3 separate regions of the Homo sapiens genome follow, and all the other regions are linked to region 2. The links are contacts of gene promoters, found by promoter capture Hi-C in blood cells and fetal thymus (Javierre and others, 2016). All regions are on one chromosome and are shown on one strand. The core of a region is centred on a gene start or on the middle of the fragment in contact, and the rest is flanking DNA. Distances in the headings are between cores, read along the strand shown.

Evidence for each region. The method cuts DNA at HindIII sites, captures the fragments that hold promoters and counts their contacts. A CHiCAGO score of 5 or more calls a contact.
Region 1: a fragment that was not itself captured here is called in contact with the fragment with the promoter of H1-10-AS1 in region 2 in 1 of 17 cell types (M1 macrophages); the score reaches 7.1 in M1 macrophages.
Region 3: a fragment that was not itself captured here is called in contact with the fragment with the promoter of H1-10-AS1 in region 2 in 1 of 17 cell types (fetal thymus); the score reaches 5.2 in fetal thymus.

Annotation. Positions count from the first base shown.
Region 1 is chr3:129,826,901-129,829,964 of GRCh38, forward strand. TMCC1 (transmembrane and coiled-coil domain family 1) reads right to left here. Exons shown (of 7, transcript NM_001017395.5): 4 at 903-1,608. The coding sequence starts at 1,478. Among named protein-coding and RNA genes, the nearest start is that of TMCC1, 65 kb to the right of the region's middle. The HindIII fragment of the contact is 1,257 bases long and covers 1,118-2,374 here.
Region 2 is chr3:129,314,630-129,317,579 of GRCh38, forward strand. It overlaps H1-10-AS1 (H1-10 antisense RNA 1), which reads left to right and starts at 1,642. Exons shown (of 5, transcript NR_026991.1): 1 at 1,642-2,716. It overlaps H1-10 (H1.10 linker histone), which reads right to left and starts at 1,657. Exons shown (of 1, transcript NM_006026.4): 1 at 142-1,657. The coding sequence starts at 1,273. The coding sequence ends at 632. RefSeq lists silencers at 196-485, 866-995, 1,796-2,135. The HindIII fragment of the contact is 12,756 bases long and covers 1-2,950 here.
Region 3 is chr3:129,888,969-129,891,985 of GRCh38, forward strand. All of the region lies in intron 1 of TMCC1 (transmembrane and coiled-coil domain family 1), which reads right to left. Among named protein-coding and RNA genes, the nearest start is that of TMCC1, 3.2 kb to the right of the region's middle. The HindIII fragment of the contact is 1,850 bases long and covers 759-2,608 here.

The DNA.
Region 1 (3,064 bases), core at 496-2,995, 510 kb after region 2:
ACCTAGCCCACAAATGTGTTCAGTGTGGCTTGCATATCTGTTAAAAATCAAGAGATTTCCCATCTAGATTTCCAGTTTCTCTTGAAAAAAATCAGAAGCTCTGGCAAGACTGTGCCCACAGTACTAAATTTCAACCATCAGCTAAAGCTAAGACATTGCCTCTGTTAAACAAAGCAGGAACTCCTCAGTTTGTCCAAGCTCCATAACACCTAAGTTCACTCATTGTCACTACCTGCATGGCTACGCGTACCTGAGTTTTCAAACCCTAGCAGGACTATTTCTTCTATGTGCCTCAACTAACCATAACTGAGAGTTATATGGAAAAAGTTTCTCCTAGATTTAATATGCCTGGTTTTGGGTAAACCCAAAACAATCTGTTTATTAATAGTACACTATAATAATGTATATGCTCTACTGTGGCATGCAAAATGTAAAATGAATGCTGCTGATGTACTACAAAGTATATGAAAATTATAACCAACTTAGTGTACTTCCATGGTAAGCACAAACTCAGATTCTAGAACTTTATTCACTACATTCATTAATGTAAGAAAGCCATCTCCATGTGCAAAATCAAAACAATAAGAAACAAAGCATCTTTATTGCTCTACCATAAAACTGACCCTCAAATATACAGAAAGAATACATGAAATATACTTAAGGTTTTAACGAAAGGATAAAATAAAATATAGCACTATGTTAGGAAGGAAATAGGAATATAATTCTAAGCATTCATTCATTAGCTATAATTATTATTTACCCATTTGAAAAGGGGAAAAATTCTTTTACCACAACTTTAAGGTATTTGCTGAGATATCTTTTTAGTTACCAAAGGAAAGTCTGGAGAGTCCTAGGTATGAAAAACAGTAAGTTAACAGAAAAACAAAATCTTACAAACTTACCCGCTCCGCAGTTCCCTCCTCTCCTGGTAGACATGCAGCAGCAGCAGCAGCAGCAGCACAAGCTATTTCCATCATAGCAGAGCTGGTAGGTGCATCAGTTGTGGATGAAGACCTGGGTCGGCCTGACTGCATAACAGCTGTCATCTCCTGACCAGACTTCCTGTTGATTTGGGGACTTCCCTTTGGGGCCTCTGGCTTGCCCCGCCTACTATGCAAGCTTGTCCCTCTCTTCATCTTGGGTGGCACTCGAATCTGCTGCAGGACACGATTCAGAGCTGTGGGGTGGGTGGGGACACCATCAATCTCAGCACATGCGTTCTGGCTTTCCAGATCCATTTCAGGTTCTGGATCTGCCTGAATTTGCTGCACATCATGTGGAGACACTGATGACCTCCTGCGCTGGTGCTGGAAGAGATGCTTCAAGCCTTGGCCAATCACGTTAATGTTCTCCAAAGCATTGTGGGTCATTTTAGACAATTTTTGTTCTGATTCTGTCTGCTTTCTGGCCTCTGCATCTTGGGATTTGCCTCCAGGATCAGGGTCCTCAAATAACTGTTCACTGCCCGAAGGCTCCATCAGTAGACTTAATATGCTTATTTGCAAACTCAAAAAAATTTTTTAAACACACCAAGAGTGTCAAATTAGGTAGGCATTTGCTTCAACAGTGACTACGCATGCAGCTGTGAGACGAAGGCTTCATGCCTATCTAATGTTAAAAACAAAAAAACAAAAAAACAAAAAAAAAACCTTATATTATAAATCCATGCAGAAACTCCAGTGTTAAAACAAAGAAAAACATGCTACTGGCCAAACAAATAGGCACTATCATTAAGCAATCTTTAATCAGAAGATTAAAAGACAGTTTTCTAGATAGTGGGTAATGATTATTTTTTAGAATGAGAGAAAAAGCCCAGAACAAGTCCATAGGAAATTAAAACAGCAATGTTCAAAAGCAAAAATCCCTACAAGATTCAATATATACAGAATTAGATATTAGAGGAGCCATCTTGGAATGGACACTATAATGGTAGTTGACAGAACAGCCATTGCTTGGGAAATCAAGAGAAGAGACCATCCAATAGGTTTACTCTAGCTGAGGCAATTTAATCCCTCTCATTCATAACCACAGTTAATTATTCACAGGCTGAAACTCAGTATAATCAAAGAACAACAGTGAGAAATGGATATCCCAATCTAACTATATGTGGATTTTAATGGAAAAGTGTGTTACCATTCATATTCATCAAGTTCACTGGTAACTAGAGATGACAGGTTTGCTCTTTTGAGAAGAGAATGGAAATAAAAATCCTGTAAGTTGAATTCTCTGCTGAAGCACAAATGACCTTTCTGGCACCATATGAGTGAATGGTTCAGACAGAATCAGAATCAGAGACTAGAGCTTTGCTCAGTACCAGCTATCAAGAAAGGAGATTCAAAGAAATCCCTTTCTCTATAGTGTCATCCCTGACAGAAGCTTCCCATATATCCATACAAACTCAAAAGCAAAGTAACTGGGTAGGATAGAAAAGTAGAGAAAAAGAAAGGTCAAACAGCAAACATATACCAGTATTAAATGCAAGAAATTAAAAGGAAGCTGAAACTAAGAGATGTAAAATCAACGCAACTGCCATGGTTACTAAAATCACATGCAAAAAAAAAAAAAAAAAAAAAGGGAGGGGGGGATGGGAGATGATGAGATTTTTCCTAATAGAAAGTGTTTATTTTTGTACTGTATTTGTGCAAATATATAAGACAAAATTATATACATGCACAGAAGCTGCTACAGAATGCAAAATATGATGTAGGAGGTTATTTCCATATTTTTCTTTAAATTTTTGTTTAAAGGACTTTAAAACTCCCTACACTACCAAGTACTTCAACAATTTAAGCCACTACCAATGAAGCACCATGGTGCTCCTGTTCTGGGAATATGTGGACTTGCTGCCACCAAGTGGCAATCTAGAAAGCCATAAATTAGCTGAATAAAAGAGTTCCCTGTGAACTCAAGGCTACTAGAGTTTAGTGGAACAGGAATGCAAACTCACTAAAGTTTTGTTCCTGATGACTACTCTCAGAAGACTTTTTTCAAATATTTTATGGGCACTGTCATTGTGGCTCCACTGTCCATATTCTTTCATGCCTGTGATTCCATTACCTAATCT
Region 2 (2,950 bases), core at 392-2,891:
TCCCACCCCTTGCTGAAGGCCCCTGGCTCCAGGCCTACCCTGGCCAACAGATCTGGGGTATAAGGACCCGAGGGGCCCGCCATCCAACCCCGCGTGCCGAAGGCGCCCATCCCTATTCCACTCAGATTAAACGAGAGAGGCTGAAAGGTTTAAACGCTTTATTGTGCCCAAAAAAAGGCCCATGGAATGAAGGGAAGAGCCGCGCAGCCCTGAGCCCGGAGCGATTGTTTGTCGCGCACCCAAAGGCAAGGAGGGTGGGGAGCTGGGAAAGGATGCGCGGCCTCCGCGTCCCCGCGCGCCTGGGCCCGGCCAACCAGCGACCCCGCCCGGTGGGCAGGCGCGGCCTCGGCCATCGGCGCCTAGGGGCCAGTAACCATGACGACGGCCGTTGCCAAGGCCGAGAGCCAATAGAGGCGTCGCCGGGGCTGTTTCAAAAACCTAAAGCAAACAACGAAAAACGCTACATCGTTGGGGGAGGGGAAAGACTGAGAGGACCCGGGGCCCCTCCCTGAGGCTCAGACCAGGCCTCGCGGCCCCGGCCGGCGTGAGCCGTACAAAATCTACGTCACTTGGGGTAGAAAAACAAAAACACCGAAAAGCCCACGCCGGCCGCTCTGACCGGCCGACACGCTCACTTGCGGCCCTTGGGCACTTTGGGGACGCTGGGCTTGGCCGCCTTCTTCACCTTCTTGCCCCCGGCGGCCGCCGTCTTCTTGGCCTTGCCGCCTTTGTCCTTCTTGGCGCCAGCGCCCTTCTTGTGCGAGCGCTGCTCCGGCTTCTGGCCCCTGGCGGGCTTCTTGTCCGCGCGCCGGGAGCCGGCCGCGCCCGGGGCTGCCTTCTTCGCTTTGTGCGCGGTGGGGGCCGGGGCGGTGGCGGCCGCCGGGGCTCCGCGCCGCTCCCCGCCGCCCTCCAGCTTCTTGCGGTTGAGCTTGAAGGAACCGTTGGCGCCGGTGCCCTTCACCTGCAGAAGCGTGTCGTTCTGCACCAGCGCCTTGATCGAGTACTTGAGGTAGGTGCGCCCATTCTGCTGGTCGAACCACGGAACCTTCTTGGCCTCGGTGTAGATCTTGGCCAGCGACGAGCCGTTGCGCTCGCCCAGCCTACGGATGGTCTCCACCACCAGCTGGCTGTACTTGCCCGGCTGGTTCTTCTTCTTGCTATTCTTCCTCTTCTTAGATGGGGACAACGCCGCCGAGCCGCCAGCCTTGGTCACCTTCTTGGCCATTCCCTCGGCGGTCGTCACTGGCAGGGCCTCCTCGAGCTCCACGGACATGGTAGCAAGAGGATTGGTGGCGGGCGGCGCGCGGAAGCCGGGGGGCCGCGCCGGGAAGAGGAAGGCGAGGGGCCGAGGGGGTGCAGGGGGGCTGGGGGCGCGCGGCGGCTCCAGGCGGGAGCGGCCGCGGCCGGGCCTGGGGCCGGGCGGCAGGGCTGGGGTGGGGGCCGGGCCGGGCCGGAGCGAGGGTTGGGGGGCCCGGAGCCGGGGCCGGACTAGGGGACCGAGTTGGGGGTCAGAGACCGAGTCCGAGCCGGCGGCTGGAGCTGGGGACGTAGACCTAGGCCGAGCCGGAGCGAAGAGAAATCCCGCCGAACGCGAGACACCGCCGCCGCAGCTTCCACTGGCGCCTCTGGAACTCGCTGGGCGTGCGCGCTGCGCTCTGGCGGGAGGGCGCTTCTCTCGGCTTTTTATAGCTTCATGGCGGACCACGTTGAGAACAACAACAGCCTGGTCCGGGGCCAGCGCCAACTTGTGCTTCTTGGAGCCCCTTCTCCGGCCGCTGGCTTCTCGGACCGCGCCTCTCCAGCGCCGCCGCGCCCGCAGCGGGGCGCCCCGGACAGGGCCTGAGCTCCCGGCGCAGTGGAGAGGCGACTTGCGTCCTGGAAGGGCTCAGCAAAGGCGAACGGAGAGGTGCACCCTAGGCTGCGGGAGCGCGAGAGGAGGGGGGCACCTCGTTTGGAGGCCAATAGCGCGGGCCCCAGAGGAGGCCCCACGGCCGGGAGCTTGGCGGCCGGCAACCCAGAGAACGCCACGGGCACCCGAGCCTTGTCCCGGCCCGGGGGGCTCCAGGCCTGCCCGCAAGAGGAGCTTTAATTTGTCCAAACTAACACAGGGCGCGCCCTCACGTGGTCGGCTGGGGCAACGTGAACTGCGCTAGGACATCCTCGGGGGTTTTCCGCCCCATCCAAAGGGGATGGCGGATGGGAGGCACTCTCCAGCTGCACCCCGGGTTCTGGTTGTGCCTCTGGGAGCCTAGGCACAACCCGGGGAATGGAGGACTACGGCAGGACCTCTCTAGGGACACTGCCTCGCCGCTCCCCCCACCCTGTTGCCGCTGATGTTCCCAGGGCCTCATTTTGTAATCCACAAGTAGCTGCCGCCGGTCCCCCCAAAGCCAAATGGGGGCTCCAGGGTGGGACAGGGTGGGCGGGGGTGAGGCTGTGACACCCAGAGGAATTCCTGTGAGAGGATGGGGAAGGGATTCGCTCTTAGTTCCTGGGTGCACCCCTCCCCCTCTCCCGTGCACAGGGAAATGATGGCGGGAACACAGCAAAGGAGACCATGTCCTGGAGAGGGTCCCGGGCCCCACCCTCCCCGGGGGGGCTTGTGCAAGGCTGGCGGCCCGATCTCTGCTGATTCCAGTATTGGGGGTGCAGAGAAGGCACAGGACAGTTTTTGTTGAAGCCGTTGCAGCCTCCACTTGGGGAAGCTGAGGCCAGGGTAAGATGCTCGGGTAGGAGAGGGGATCCCTTTGGGGGTAGGTGATGTAGGGCACAGGAGTGGGGCTGGGGCTGGGGGGTGGCAGGGTTGCAGGCAGGAGACAGTCTCCAGAGGCCCAGCATAGAAAAGCGATGGAGGGGTGAGGGGGGACAGGACGCTGGCGAATTGGGGTTCCCAGAGTGAGAGACAGGAACATTTACAGGTGGACAGAGTAAAAGGCCCTGAAAAGGGGGT
Region 3 (3,017 bases), core at 434-2,933, 570 kb after region 2:
TCTATAAAAATACCTGACCACGGCTGGACACAGTGACTCACGCCTGTAATCCCAGCACTTTAGGAAGCTGAGGAGGGTGGATTGCTTGGTTCTAGGAGTTCGAGACCAGCCTGGGCACCATGGTGAAACCCCATCTCTACAAAAAGTACAAAAATTAGCAGAGCATGATGGCACACATCTCTGGGCCCAGCTACTCCGGACATTGAGGTCAGAGGATCACTTGACCCCAGAGTGTTGAGGCTGCAGTGAGATGAGATCGTTCCACTGCACTCCAGTCTTGGTGACAGAGGGAGATCCTGTCTCAAAAAAACAAACAAACAAAACCTGACCAGTAATGTTCAAAACTGCCAAGGTCACTAAATACAGGGAAAGTCTGAGAAATTGTCACAACCAAGAGGAGCTAAGGAGACATAATTACTAAATGTAATGTGGTATTGTGGATGGGATCCTGGGATAGTGAAAGAACATTAAGGAAAAAACCTGTGGAAACCTGATAAAGTATGGTCTCTGTGATAATGTATCAATACTGGTTTATTAATACAGACAAATGATCACAGGGATGTAAGACGTTAATAATATGGGAAACAGTGTAGGATAGGCAGGAACTCTGCAGTATCTTTGCAATGTTTCTGTAAATCTAAATTTTAAAGTCTATTTTTAAAAATTATAACAAATTTATGATCAACGGCATCCCTGGAATTTTACTCAGTGCATCTAGGACACAAAAGATACTTAAAATATGGTCTTTGCCTTCAAGAAGCTTGTTGTCGCAGAGTGAAGACAAATGCTCATGAAACTAGTATAAAATACAAAAATAAGAAAAAATTAAATTGAAGAGTAAAGATAAAACTATATTAAGAATATAAAGAAGGTCTAGAATTATCAGGAAAGATTTGGTCAAGGAGATAAAACTTGAATTTGTACCTTAAAATATACTTCAGAGTAGCAAAGTTAAAAAAAAAAAAAAAGAATAAACTAAGCTCACAACAACCAGAAGGGTGAAGAAATAAGAAAAAGCTAACAGAAATTAAAATGGCTGGGGCATGGTGGCTCATGCTTATAAACCCAGCACTTTTGGAGGCCAAGGCAAGGGGGATCACTTGAGGCCAGGAGTTTGCCTAGGCAACATATGAGACCCCATCTCTCTCCATAATATCTTTAAAAAAAAGAAAAATAAAAACATTCAGCTCTGAAAAGTGAAGACTTAAATAGGAGACATAATAGCAGTGCTCAAACACTTTAAGGGTCATGTGGCAGAACTAACAGAGTTACACCTATACCCATTTAACTTACAAGCCAACCTCTGGCAAAATGTGACCAATGCTCAAGGACAAAGAGAGTGACAGCTGTTCAGTGGAGCCACAACAGGAAATGCCAATATGGATAGACAGGAAGCAGGTGGCTAAGTTCTCTACAACTTTTCAAAGGACAGTATGTATGTGAGCCCAAAGAAGTAAAAATCAGATTCTAATTCTGCAAATGTTTACTGACTATCTTAAGTGCCGGGCTCTTTCAAATACATTATCTTGTTTAATATTCGCAACACATCTATGAGCATGTATTAATGTAATAGAGGCTTAACATAAAAATAGAATTAAACCCTGCATGGAAACAGGAACATGTCAAAATTCTATACCATCCCCCACTCTCTGATAGGGACTCCAGAGCAGTTTTAAAAAGCCAAACAGTCTGAAGGCCCAGATACCTATATAACAATTTATTTCCTCTTGCTCTTTCCCTCAGTCAAGCTCTGTGGCTCTCAGCCTTTCATATTCGTAAGAATTTTATACAACTATACATACAAAAACATGCAGACCATACTTTTTGAGCAATTTATGGAATTTTCCAGAAGAGTTTTCATCTTACATGATTTTTGCCTCATGCACTAACTTGAGGACCTAACCCTGGGATGAGGTGCAACTCCACTGCAGTCTTACTCCATGGGTACTGTAAGGCAGGATCAGGAAGAGGAAACGGAAAGGTACCATCCTATTACATGAAGAACAACATTCTAACAAAGACATAAAATGTATTTACATAAAATGTAAGAATGACATGTTATGTGGGGAAGTTCAACACTGGAAAACAAGAGCAGCTCATCTGCACCTGCAGACCTTTGCACTCACTGTTTCATTTACCAGGAAAGCGCTACCATTTTTCAGGTCACAACTCAAATACCTTCTCCTTAATGAGGCCTCCTCTCACTAAGTAACCCTCCACCCACCTTTCAGTCATTCACTTGTCACATCAGCTTGTTTTATTTTCTTCATAATTCATATTAGGGGTCAGCAAACATTTTCTATAAAAGGCCAGACTATAATCTATAGGCCAAATCCACCTTGCCCCGTTTTATATGGCTAAGAATGGTTTTACATTTTTAAATGGCTAGGGGAAAATATTTTTAAAAACTCATTAATATTCTGTGACATGTGAAAATTTTATGAAATTCAAATTTCAGTGTCCCAAGTTTAACTGGAATATAAACATATTTGTTCACGTACTGTCTGTGGCTGCTTTTGTACTAAAACAGAATTGAGTAGTTGCAAAAGAGATCATATGGCCCAAAAACCCTGGTATGTACTGTACTTCCTGGTCCTTTACCAAAAAAAGCTTACTAACCACTGATTTATATCATTATCTGAAATGATCCTATTTGCTTGTTTGTTGTATATTCCTCATTCCCATACATACAGAATAAAGCTTAATTAGGGAAGAGGCCTTGTCTGTTTTGTCCCAACAATGTAGCCCAGTACTTAGAAAACATCCTGGAACAAAGTAAGGGCTCAATAAACATTTGATGAATTAATGAATGATCCATAAATGCCACTCTGAGGAGCTTAAACCTAAGCCCTGAGCCATTATATGTTCTGCACATTTATGAGAGGCATAAGCAGTCTTGCAGAAAAGGGGAAATATTCTACTATCAAGAAGGCCCAGTTTAAAGTAATGGTGGTTGGTCACCAACTAGTCTAGGGCACTGGGGTTCTTCATCAAATTGTAGACTACAGGTCTTTTGT